Linked DNA regions of Homo sapiens: all the other regions are linked to region 2. Evidence: promoter capture Hi-C in 16 types of primary human blood cells and fetal thymus (Javierre and others, 2016). All regions are on one chromosome and are shown on one strand. Each heading gives the region's core, a stretch centred on a gene start or on the middle of the fragment in contact. The rest is flanking DNA. Distances are from core to core; before and after follow the strand shown. Region 1 has its middle 17 kb from the start of CCDC91. Region 2 holds the start of PTHLH (parathyroid hormone like hormone). Region 3 has its middle 35 kb from the start of CCDC91.

Region 1 (3,662 bases), core at 379-2,878, 200 kb before region 2:
ATACAATGCTGTCAATTTCCCTATTTGATATATAAATATTTGCTTTATTTTAGACGGTTTCAGTACAATACAAAATACAGATATATTCTATTTGATTAAATTGTGATGGCATATATTGGTAGATATTCATTCAAAGGCTGAACATTTAATAATGAAAAAAACTACTGGAAAGTAATTAAGGAAGTTGCTAATCAGTTCATTAATTAAGTATATCTGCTGCACATTATACAGAAACAAATTAAAAAGGATTCTGTGCTAGCCAGAAATTCCCTCTCAAATGTAGTCAAAAGAGAAGATTAAAAACAAACAAAATGAAAACAAAACTGAGTGAATTATTTCTATGGGAAATTGCAATTTGATATATACCATTTATCCTTATGGTACCTTTTAAGCTACATAATATACAATACAAAAATTGAGTTTAAATATATAGTACACATACAGTTAATATCTGTTGGTTTAAAATCATTATTCATTAATGTCTGATATCATTAGAAACAGAGTTTTACAGTTAAATGAACTTAGATGCAATTTTATTTGAACTCCTCTCTGAATTCAGGAAACTAGTACCCACAGTTAAGCAACAAATCAGCAGAAACCAGCAGGAAAGTGTCTCACAGAAGGCTTTCTTATTTGAAAGCAAAATAAATTAACAATAAGTAAAAACCAGTTTACTGAGTTTGCGCATAAATGGCCTCAGACAATTAAAAGATTGAGATTCAAGAAAGGATGTGGTTCTTATATTTTTTTTTTCTTTTTTTGAAAAATTCCACCCTCACTTTGGCCCTCCAGCTTCCTCCTTACCCCCTTTTTTGTTCTTATATAATTTAAACTTTCAACTGCATGATAAAGAACGTAAGGAAAAATTACATTTCTATTTTAGTAGGTTCTAGATGATCAATCAGTTGCTTGGATTTTGAAGAGTCAAAATTTTGATAAATGGGGACATATTTTTATCAAGTTTAGCACTCCGTTAAACAAGAAAGCATTTATTCTATGTTTTTACAAGTGTTTTTTTTTTCAGTAAGGATATTTACACTTATTTGAAGATCATCCATTATTTGTATAACTTTTACAAAATGCAGATTCCTGAAGTTAGGAATAGAATTAAAAATGGACAAATATACTTGTGTACAAACAGCAAATAGAGTTGATTTCAGAAGCTAATGAACGTTAGACACTGGGTTATTTGTGTACCTCCTAGAATGTGAGGTTTGAGTGGTTTCATACCTGTTCTGAAGCTTTCATTATTGATTTAGCTGTGAATGGTATTCAGTCAGCTGGTAATAAATGAGTAATATCACCCAGCAATATGGCAGTTTTGATATGGTCAAAAGCTAGACATACCTGTGGTCCTTCCAAATCAAAGAGTACTTCTAATGTTATAAGATTGATTATTTGATTTTTGGACTTCTCCTCAAGAATGAGAAAGCTCCATGTTTTTATATATGAAATAAGACTCGTTTATGTGAATGTAGAGAATTTAGCATGTCAATTACAAAGAATCTGACTTCTCTGCAAGCTGAGAACAATATGTGATATGGTTTGGCTCTGTGTCCCCACCCAAATCTCATGTCAAATTGTAATACTCAGTGTTGGAGGAGGGGCCTGGTGGGATGTGATTGGATCTTGGGGGCAGATTCCCCCTTGCTGTTCTCGTGATAGTGAGTTCTCATGAGATCTGGTTGTTTAAAAGTGTGTAGCACTTCCCTCTTTGCTCTCTCTCTCCTGCTGCACCATGTGAAGATGTGCCTGCTTCCCCTTCACCTTCCACCATGATTGTAAGTTTCCTGAGGCCTCCCTAGCCATGCTTCCTGTATAGCCTGTGGAACCATGAGTCAACTAAACCTCTTTTCTTCATAAATTACCGAGTTGCATGTAGTTCCTTATAGCAATGCTAGAACGGACTAATACAACATGTTTTACCATTGTTTTCATACAATGCTTTGGGGATATATGAAGATGCAGGGAAATGTCATGGTAGAAGTAATAGCACAATTTTTTGAAAAGCTTGGGTTAGTAAGACTCATTACAAATATTCTGGATCCATTTTTGGCTAAATGAAGAGGAAAATTTTACCAACTGATGGCCATTTGATGACCTGCATGGAAAGAATTAGTAGGCTCAGGAGAGTATACAGTTGAGAGAAGTGATCACATCACAAAATGTGACATAATTCTTTGGCACTAACTGGCATCCTAGGCATGGAGAGTGAATTACATTCTCAACTCTGAATTTCCCCCTCTAGATTACCCATGTGGCTCACCAGAGGGCAGTGTGCAGTAATCAACTCTTTTGCTTCCTGCATTGGATGTCTCCTATGGAAAAACCAATGTCAAATAATCAGAACCAGACAACAGGCAAGACAATAGGTTATGAAAGTTGTTTATTAGATTTGTTGTACTGTGCCCTGTACATGGAATTCTTAACATTGAAAAATTAACCAATTACCGCATGAGAGATCATGTAATAAGGTTTTAGTGAATTCTGTATAATAGTTTCAATTTTATGACAATGATTTTGGCATTGCTGAGGTCAAGTGTCTCTTTTAGACTTAAAAATGTATAATATCCACTGGTCGATAAATTGCCTTGCTTCACATATCTCACACCTGAATTCTCAAGAGTTTCCAGTATTGCATACAGATTTATTCAGTGAATATTAATCGAACAATTAGAATGTGGGATATAACAAGATAAAGTACCTATAAATCCTGCTTACAAGAAACTTGAAATCTATCAAGGGATTAAAGTGTAAATGAAAATTAATACACTATCAAAATTACATAAAGTGGGAGTTACATATAAAATACTAAGAGAATTCAGTGAAGGAAAAGATAAAGGCATTTGGAAAGGGTTCAAAATTTGAGCTGAGTCTCACAGGTGAGGCAGAAAGCATTTGGACATATTGAGAGTAATGAAAGCACATGCCAAATAAAGAAAACATCATGGATGCACAAAATTAAAGGACCTAGACGGTTAGGGTATATGAAAGGTAGTAGTGGGAAATAATGCTAAAGAGTCATAGAGTGAATATGTCTTTGAGTGTACTGAATACCAGCCATACTCCAAAAACTGAACTGACAACAGGAAGTTGTTATAGGAGTAAAAGATCAGCTTCAGCATTTTGTACTAAAAAAATTGATATAGCAGTTTTTTTGTGGGATGGACTGATAAATAAGCTCCCAAAGGTAGGGAGATCTGTTAAAAAGGTATCTCATTAATCCTGTAGGCTTTGAGATTGAATAAAGAAGGCAAGCAAGGGATTCTGTAAAAGTAGAATTGGTATGAGTAAAAACTAAGTAGATGTGGGTGGGGTAAAGAGAGAAAGAAGTCAAAACATAGTCTGAGGTTTTGAGCTGATGTAGGAGGACGATGACTTCATTCATTGAAATACAGGACCCAGGCGAAGGAGATTTGGGAAAGAAATTGGTGTGTTTACCAAAAATCTTAAATAAAAAAATCCTAGTCAAAATCTTTATGAAGCTAAATAGTTTCTTATCTTTTCATCTTTTATAAATTAATTCAGATGTATTTGGAGGGCTCATTATTCTTGATACCTTCAAAAGTCTACAGAAGCAACATTTTGTTTACTAAAATGTTTTGCAATTGTTAAAAGTGAAAATCAGAGGGCTATATTGTTCACTTAAGCTTAACAGAGTT
Region 2 (4,118 bases), core at 849-3,348:
GGGAGGCTGAAAAAGATCATCCCCCTTGCCCTAAGGCCTCTCCCAAGACCCTGGACCCCTGCCCTAAGAGACTCAGGCCTCCCTTGCTGCAGTGGGAGCGCAAACACCAGGGCAGGAGACTCCAGAGAAGGAGCGCATAACTCAACGTTTGCTCTCCTGAAGCCTTATTTCTGATAAAAATTACAGAAAAGTTAGGCAGGATCCAAAGACACCGTAATGACCAGCTCAAAGCCAAACAGACAGGACATCCAGTGCGGGTGTCTGGATAGGTATCCTTCCTGCCGGAGAGTTTAGACATCTCAGTCCGGGTGCTGCCCTGGGAAGGGACTTCGAGGCCAGCGTGGCACGGGCAGAGAATGGTGTTAGGGAGGTAAAATGCTTGCGGGGGCAGCCCCTTTTAGGCAGCCCCCGGCTCAAAATTTAAGAAAGGACCATTCGGTTCATGTGGGGAACTGGGCTGCTGCCAGGAGGGCCCTGTGATGCCACCGGAGATTGACTTCAGGTTGAGAGGTTGTCGCCTGAGCCAGGTGGGGCTTGGAACTCTCTCTGTGGCCTCGTACAAGTCCAGAGCTGCCTACTTTCAGGAGCCAAAAACTTGGCCAGCCAAGGGCAGGCATCTGGCTGGCTGGCACCAGTCCAGGAGATCAGGACTGGGACACTGCACATTCATATTCTCTCTCTCTCTCTCTCTCTCTCTCTCTCACACACACACACACACACACACACACACACACACAGAGACATATCTGAAGAAGACTCTTCAGATATGTTTCAATTGTCAGGAGTTTGCGAGGTGCTCAAGTGCTTGACCTTTAAGAACCGGTTCTCAGAGACCCCCATTTCCTAAAGACCTTCTCATCTCACATTGGTTTGGGTTCCTCCCAGGAAACCGCCTCCTCTCTGGGCCTCCTGCTTCAGTTTGGGGGAAGCAGAACATTGCCCAGGAAGTAGGGAAGGGTGAGGAAGGGTGTGAGGCCCACTTTTCCCATGGGAGGATCCCATCAGCTTGATGCATATCTATACACTCCTCCCTGAGGCAGTTCCTCCAGAGGTTAGCAGCCCGCCCTGTTCCTGGAGAAGTCTTATCCTCACCTAACTACAAAAAGATTTAATAAAGAAACACACCCTTTCCTATTGTTACTTGGGGTTTGAAGGCATTACATCTTTTTTTCTTTTTTGCTACCTTGAGGTCAGCTGGCAACAGCCTCCTCTCAAGTCTCAGTCCAGGCGAGCGATGAGAGCCACATTCTAATGGAATCCAATGAGAGCATTACTTGAGCTGATTATGCAACGTCTCTTTGTAAACATTGAAAAAAGTTTGGAGAAGAGATGGGATGAGTTTAGTTGTTTGGTTCCAGGGGATTTTAGAGACATAGCTTGCAGCTACAGATTGGTAAATGTGAAATCTGGATGCTTATTGGTAATAAGAGAATTCCCAAGCCCAGGTGCACTGTTTAAAGTGCTATAGATTCATATTTGGTTTATAATGTATATCTGTTTGCTGTTTGGGTTAAGGAGGAAAGAAGAAAGAAGGATGAAGAGGCTAAGCATAAATGCTATTTACTTTTTTCTAAGCTATGACAGGAGATATACATTAACTGGGTATTCAACTGAATTTAAGAGTAATGCATTTAAAATTTTTTCAACCTCTTTTAAAATTTGATATACTGTAATAAACTGCCACTGGGGATGGGAAGATGGAAGCCTGGTGCTCATGGGCTAGGCATTTGTGTAGGTGTAGATCTTATAATGCTAAACATGGAAATACTTCAGATTAGAGGCAGGCCTTCCCATTTGCTAAGGTGCATTTACATGACAGCAAGGCCTAAGCAAACATTTAGCTTCTATTGGCACTTGTTCTATTTCTAAACCTTAGAAAAAAGGTGTGTGTGTGGGCTGGGGGGACGGGGGGGGGAGGGAGGTGGTAGGGGGTGCTCTTGCTGTGTCTCATTTGCAGTCATGCATCCTCTGCATTATTATGATGGAGATTACTCAGTTATGTTAGGAACTAGATTATGATGTCAGAAAATATCCTTTCCAAAACAGGCAAAAAGTCAGGGTCCTGGGTATATATTGAGGAGAATTTCTACGGAAAGTAATAAACAGGGCAGCTTGGAAGAGGTACCTGCTTTCTAATAATTGCCTTTAGTGGGAACAGAAGTCTCCTTTCAAGAAGCTTTTAATTCATTTTAAGATTTAATTTTATGTTTTCTGAAGAACAACAAAAAATATTTCTGGAAAAGACTGCTGAGAAGATTTCCCTCTTTCAGCCAGAAGAGCAGAGAGAAGATTGTAAATCAAGGAAAAGGTGAAGTAATAAATTAGGAGGGAACTTTGGTATTCCGAGTATATAAAGACTATTTATTTTTCCTGTGTCTATATTTTCTCTTTTTGTGGAGGAGAGGAAATTCTAAAAATATTTGATAGATGTTTTGCCATTAACACCAGAAAAGTGTGTGGGGAAAAAGAAAGGAGGGAAGGAGTGGGGGGTTAATTTTGTTTAATTAGTAGAAAAAGCAACATAAATCAAAGCAGTCTATTGATGCCAGTCCTTAATTTATAATGTTCTGAAAGTAAAGTGAATTTATTTACAACATAAGTGATTTGATAATTTCAATCTGATTTTTGTTTTAACCTTCTATTGGGAGAAGGGTTGACTTTTTAAAGCCTGGATAGTTTGAAACTTGGCTAGGTACCTTGGACTTTTTATTGTGGAAGCAAATATTATCATTTCAATGTTAAACAACTTGCAAGTATTAAATGGCTCATTTGTGATTGACTTTTTTTTTTTTTTTTTTTTTTTTTTTACAGATTTCCCCCTTCAGATCTAACGATTACATTAGGGCTCCTGCATCTTTTTGGAAGGATTCTTTTTATAAATCAGAAAGTGTTCGAGGTTCAAAGGTTGACATTTCTGAGTGCTGATACTTTGTCCTTTCATACTATCCAAACAAGTCTAACATTTAGAAATCCTTACACATTCAAGGGAAGTTGTGGAAATTCCCAGAGAGAGAGTGTGTGTGTGTGCGTGTGTGTGTTTTGGTTTTGTTTTGCTTTTTTTCTTTGTTAGTGAGAAGAAGCCGAGTCTTTTAAGGTACGGGGTTTACAGTAATGAACTGAGGAAGGCAGGAGCTTCTAAGAAAATATGCCCCCCCACCCAACCTAAGCAGTAAACTTTAACTGCTAGCTAGCTGCAGTGAACCAGTGGGAGCCCCGATGAGCGAGGGTCTCGGTGACAGCGTGCTATTTCTCCCACCCTGGGTAAAATATGTGGAGCATCACCCGGAAAGTCGGGCTTGATAAAGGCCACATTCCTTGAATCATCTCAAGAATCTAAATCACACTAGCCTTCTAGAAACTAATGAACCCTACCAGCAGGATTGCCTAGAAGACAAATATCCCTTGAATGGTTCCCAGTCCACTCGCGCTCTTTTCAAAAAGTTAGAGGAGCCCTGGGGAGGGTATCCACTCCCGCTGCAATCCTTTCCTAGATGATACTACCCAGTAATTCCGAGCAGTCTTTCTTCCCCGCCCATTAGCTTTGGAAAGAACCTCGGCTTTCCCGTCGCTTCTCCCAGGCAGAGCAGCACATAACCATAGTTCCACTGCATCTGTCCGCTGGCTGCAGCGACTCGGATACAGTCTTCCAAGAATCTGTAACCTGGGACTTTTGAGGGGGAGGGGACAAGCAGGTAGGGTATCAGAGAAAGGATGGGTTAGACTCCCGACCATGAGTGAAAAGGGCCGTGTGCGTGCTCCAGGAGTGTCGGTCCCCCTCTGCAATTCAAAAGGGGGATCTCTCCTGTGCGCGGGTTTTTTGGGACCGGCTCCAGATGTCTCCCAGCAGTTCTGAAACAGCAAAAAGTGCAATTTAGATATGAAATCTGGAACTGTTTTTGTTCTTCTAAGCAAAAGATCTCCCTCTCTCTAGCCGATGCTCCCCACTCAGTTCATCCCGGGAATGGGCCAGGGAGGAAGGTTCTCATGCATCGCCCCGAGCTGCCAGGCGAGCTTCGGGCTCCTTAAATTCACAGGCCAACAGCCCGCGTCCTCTCCGCGCAGGCTCCCGGTTGCCCGCGGTCCCCGGCCCAGCTCCTTGGCCTCCTCCTCGTCGGTCC
Region 3 (3,640 bases), core at 998-3,497, 180 kb before region 2:
AGGAATCCTTCCATATCTCCAGGGAGCCGTTATGAGCTGCTGAGTGGCATTGCACACTGAGGAGTCCATATTTTCTCATTCCTTGTTTGTTATAAGACTTGGGCCCAAGAGAGTGTGAAAGAATGCCCGTGAATGTAGTCTCCCGTGTTTGTTTTATTAAGAAAATGTAAATGTCTCACTGTTGCATTTTTTACCCAAAATGATCCTGAAAGTTTAATATTCACCCAAAGGCAAAGTAACAGAGTACTTCTTAGTGCCTATGTTAAAAAGGAGCTGCAATTTGTTTTCAGTCCTTGGGACATTTTTACACTCCCATTACATAAAATAAATAATCACAAAGGAAATTAAACCACAAAGGAACTATGTTAAAGCCATGTTAAGTGCCTGACCTAAATATATAAAACAAAGGAAATACATGGTTGTGGTTAGAATTTGGTCTTTAAGACTATTGCATTTACAGCACATAGTAACATGGTAACAATATGTTAGGGAGATTCTTAAGCTGTATTTATTCAAAGCAACATACTTGGAAGAGGAGTGAAAGATTTCACAGAATTATCCCAACGTTTTATTCATTTGAGATAAAACTGCTAGTTTTTTAAAAGTGTTAGTATTGTTGGCAATTTGAGAATGCTTACTAATTATATTTTATGTCTCTTCTATATGCAAATATAATTTCCACCAAAAAAAGTTGAACATCCATGGTTAGTGTCAAAAGACAAAATTATAACAAACATAGTTCAAATTTGCTTTAATTCGCAATTCTAGAATCAGGCAACACTTCATTCTATAAAATGGAATGAGTGTTCCAACGAGCTGAGCAGGAGAGTTTGGCTTTATGGGCAGAAAATAGCTGAAGAAAGCAGAAACAGAGCAAAAAGGGATTGATCGTTTCAGCTACTTTCCTTGTAAAGCTTAAAGCAGTGGGGACTTCCTTATCATGCCAGCTAAAATGGGCCTCTTTTGGGGATTTTGCTATTAAATCTCTCTCTCTCCTGGTTTTTCAGAAGATCAGATAAACAGCTTAGTTTTGGCTTGATGGTGTGGAACTTCAGCATCAGTAACTCCAGTTTACTTTGGTTTGTTGGGCCTAATGCAGGAGCTCAGCCCAAACCAATGGCCCCTGTAAATTTTATTTAATGTTAGCGCAAGTCTCCCATGTCAGTACCTTGTGAAGCTCTTGCCTCCACAGGCAAACTGTTCAAAATGAATGCATACTGTGCCTGCTCCAAGGAGCTAATGGAGGAAGGAGAGTTCTGCTATCCCCTTGACATCAATCTTAGAGAAATTTATAAACGTGTCTTGGGAAGTTGGTTTTTGTTGAAATTGTATTTTGATAATATTTTAAAATTTCCTAATTCTTTGCAAAGATTTTTTATATGCATTTTCTAATTTAATTGCATTTCAGTTTTTCTCTGTAGATTCAGATGACCTGATTATTTTGGGAGGATTTAGCACCAAAAACAATTAGGAAAATTACATCTAGACTAGAAGAAAGGAAAATTGAGTTATTTGTTTAACTTGTAATTTATATTATTATTAAATTTGGCCCTTATTTGAAGGTACCCTTAAAAACAGCATCAAAGTAAGCAGGAGTCTAATGGTTTAATGCAATGTGTATGGAATTGGGAGAGTTATCCTATGTAGAAAGAAGCCACAATGCTAGATTGTGATTGTGATGTTTCACTGGGTTATGCTTTAGTATACACTCACAAACCTTCACTCAACAGCTGTTAAAGTCCTGAGAGACAACCCATACAGCAACTCAGGGACAAAATTAGACTTGGGAGTTTCCTGTTCCTTAATTAAATTTAAACTGCTTTCTGCAGTGACAGGGCTCCAATTAGCAGACAAGTTCAAAGAAAAATCTAACATAGTTACCTGTGGCTATATCATAAGCTTTAATGCAGCCCAGGGTTTGGAGAATACAATCTTAAGTGAGCCTTCTGGATCTACCTTAACAGTGACAAATTTAATTCATATAAATCATGAAGCCCAGAGGGAAGTTTCTTTTCTTTGTTGTGTTTATTCCTAAGTGGTCTAATCCACATATATGAATCACACATAAATGCAGTGCTTGCTTGGGAAGACTATCTCCCTTTGTTCAACATGAAGTGTACTTCCCACAAAACCCATCCACAAAAGCTGGTTCTTAGATTTTCACACACTTCAACAAATACAACCAAAAAATGCTAACATACTATAAGCATTTCTATATATTTAATGTACTCAAATAGTATTGAAGATACTAGGGAAAAAATAATGCACTTTGTGGGCTCTTCATGAGGCTTCCAAATTCTCAATGTCTTGAACTTTCTCAAAGCAGAATGTATAATGATTTCTTCAAAATGTCAATTATAATTTGTTCCCCTTTCTCACTACTTAAAATTGTTAGAGACCATCCATTTTAAGTCAGCATTTTCAGAAAGGATCAACTGAAACTTGAACAGGCAGAAGGAAAAATGTTTCCACTTCTACCAGGCTTAAAAGAAGTTGGGCATCTTTTCGTATTTTTCTTATTAGCATTGTAATATAAAACATCTGTAATAATTTAGTGAATTAAATACATTAAAACAACAAATAAAAGAAGCTTTAATGAATAAAATACAGAAGACCCCATATGGCTGCTATTTCTTTCTTGACAAGAGGCACAGTCAAGCAGCTAGAGCCGTGAGTAACTGCTGGAAGGCAATAAACCCATGAACAGGATTGTGAGCTGCTGTGTGCTAATATGAAAAACAGCTTTTATTTATTTTGCCACCTTTGTAACAGCACATTAGATCCTGCCATTTCTCACCAATTTTCTTACTCTCTGTGGAAACGGTAGTTTCATAACTTATTTCTGTATAGTTCTTGTCTAACACTTTTTCTCTTACTTGTTAGGACACTCTCTTTTCTGTTTTTTTTCACCTCCAGAACTACCCCCTTTATCCAAACTATTATCTCCTACCTAGAGTACTGCAAAGCTTTCAAGGTCATATCTTTCTCTTCAATCAAGTTTAACCATTATATAGCAGTCAAATATCTTTTTTTAAGTAACTCAAATAACTCTTGAACCCAAGAACTTAAAGTAGTAGACAACTGCTTAATGGGGAAAATTTAAATTCTCTGGACTAGTAATTACAGGTCTCAATCACTTGGTCCTTCTGGAACTAACCATTTTTCATCTATTGTAATTCCACCAACAGTCTCTAAGCTTCATATAGGACAATTTCTATTACATCCCTATTTCACACACACACATTTATGGCTCACATCTCTTTGCCTTTGCACATACTCGTCTCCCAAGAATGAATGATTGCCCACTACTTTATGACAACTTACATCTAGGAGCTACAAATTTAAATGTACTCAGTTGACAGGCAAACAATATACTCACGATAGAGTAAATGATGGAATAAAACACTACGTAGTGGTACCAAGGATGGCTAAACTGGATAAGGCATGTTTCATAGACAGGCATTCAAATCTAAGTTGTTTTTTAAAACATCATGCTGGCCTAGCAAAACATGGGCCATAAATTTGCAACCTCTGAAGTATAATTACTATGATCTTCCTTAAGACCTGTTAAAAATTTCCCTTCATGAGAAAAATTTCCCTGAAGATTCCCGTTCTTTGTCCTTATTTTCCATTTCTTCAG

What was found. The method cuts DNA at HindIII sites, captures the fragments that hold promoters and counts their contacts. A CHiCAGO score of 5 or more calls a contact.
Region 1: a fragment that was not itself captured here is called in contact with the fragment with the promoter of PTHLH in region 2 in 2 of 17 cell types (endothelial precursors and megakaryocytes); the score reaches 10.8 in endothelial precursors.
Region 3: a contact is called between a fragment that was not itself captured here and the fragment with the promoter of PTHLH in region 2, in 1 of 17 cell types (endothelial precursors). The highest score is 5.3, in endothelial precursors.

What each region holds. Positions count from the first base shown.
Region 1 is chr12:28,171,236-28,174,897 of GRCh38, reverse strand. No RefSeq gene overlaps it. Among named protein-coding and RNA genes, the nearest start is that of CCDC91, 17 kb to the left of the region's middle. The HindIII fragment of the contact is 769 bases long and covers 1,244-2,012 here.
Region 2 is chr12:27,970,713-27,974,830 of GRCh38, reverse strand. It overlaps PTHLH (parathyroid hormone like hormone), which reads left to right and starts at 2,098. Exons shown (of 6, transcript NM_198965.2): 1 at 2,098-2,308; 2 at 2,812-2,904. The HindIII fragment of the contact is 3,977 bases long and covers 1-2,178 here.
Region 3 is chr12:28,153,370-28,157,009 of GRCh38, reverse strand. No RefSeq gene overlaps it. Among named protein-coding and RNA genes, the nearest start is that of CCDC91, 35 kb to the left of the region's middle. The HindIII fragment of the contact is 691 bases long and covers 1,902-2,592 here.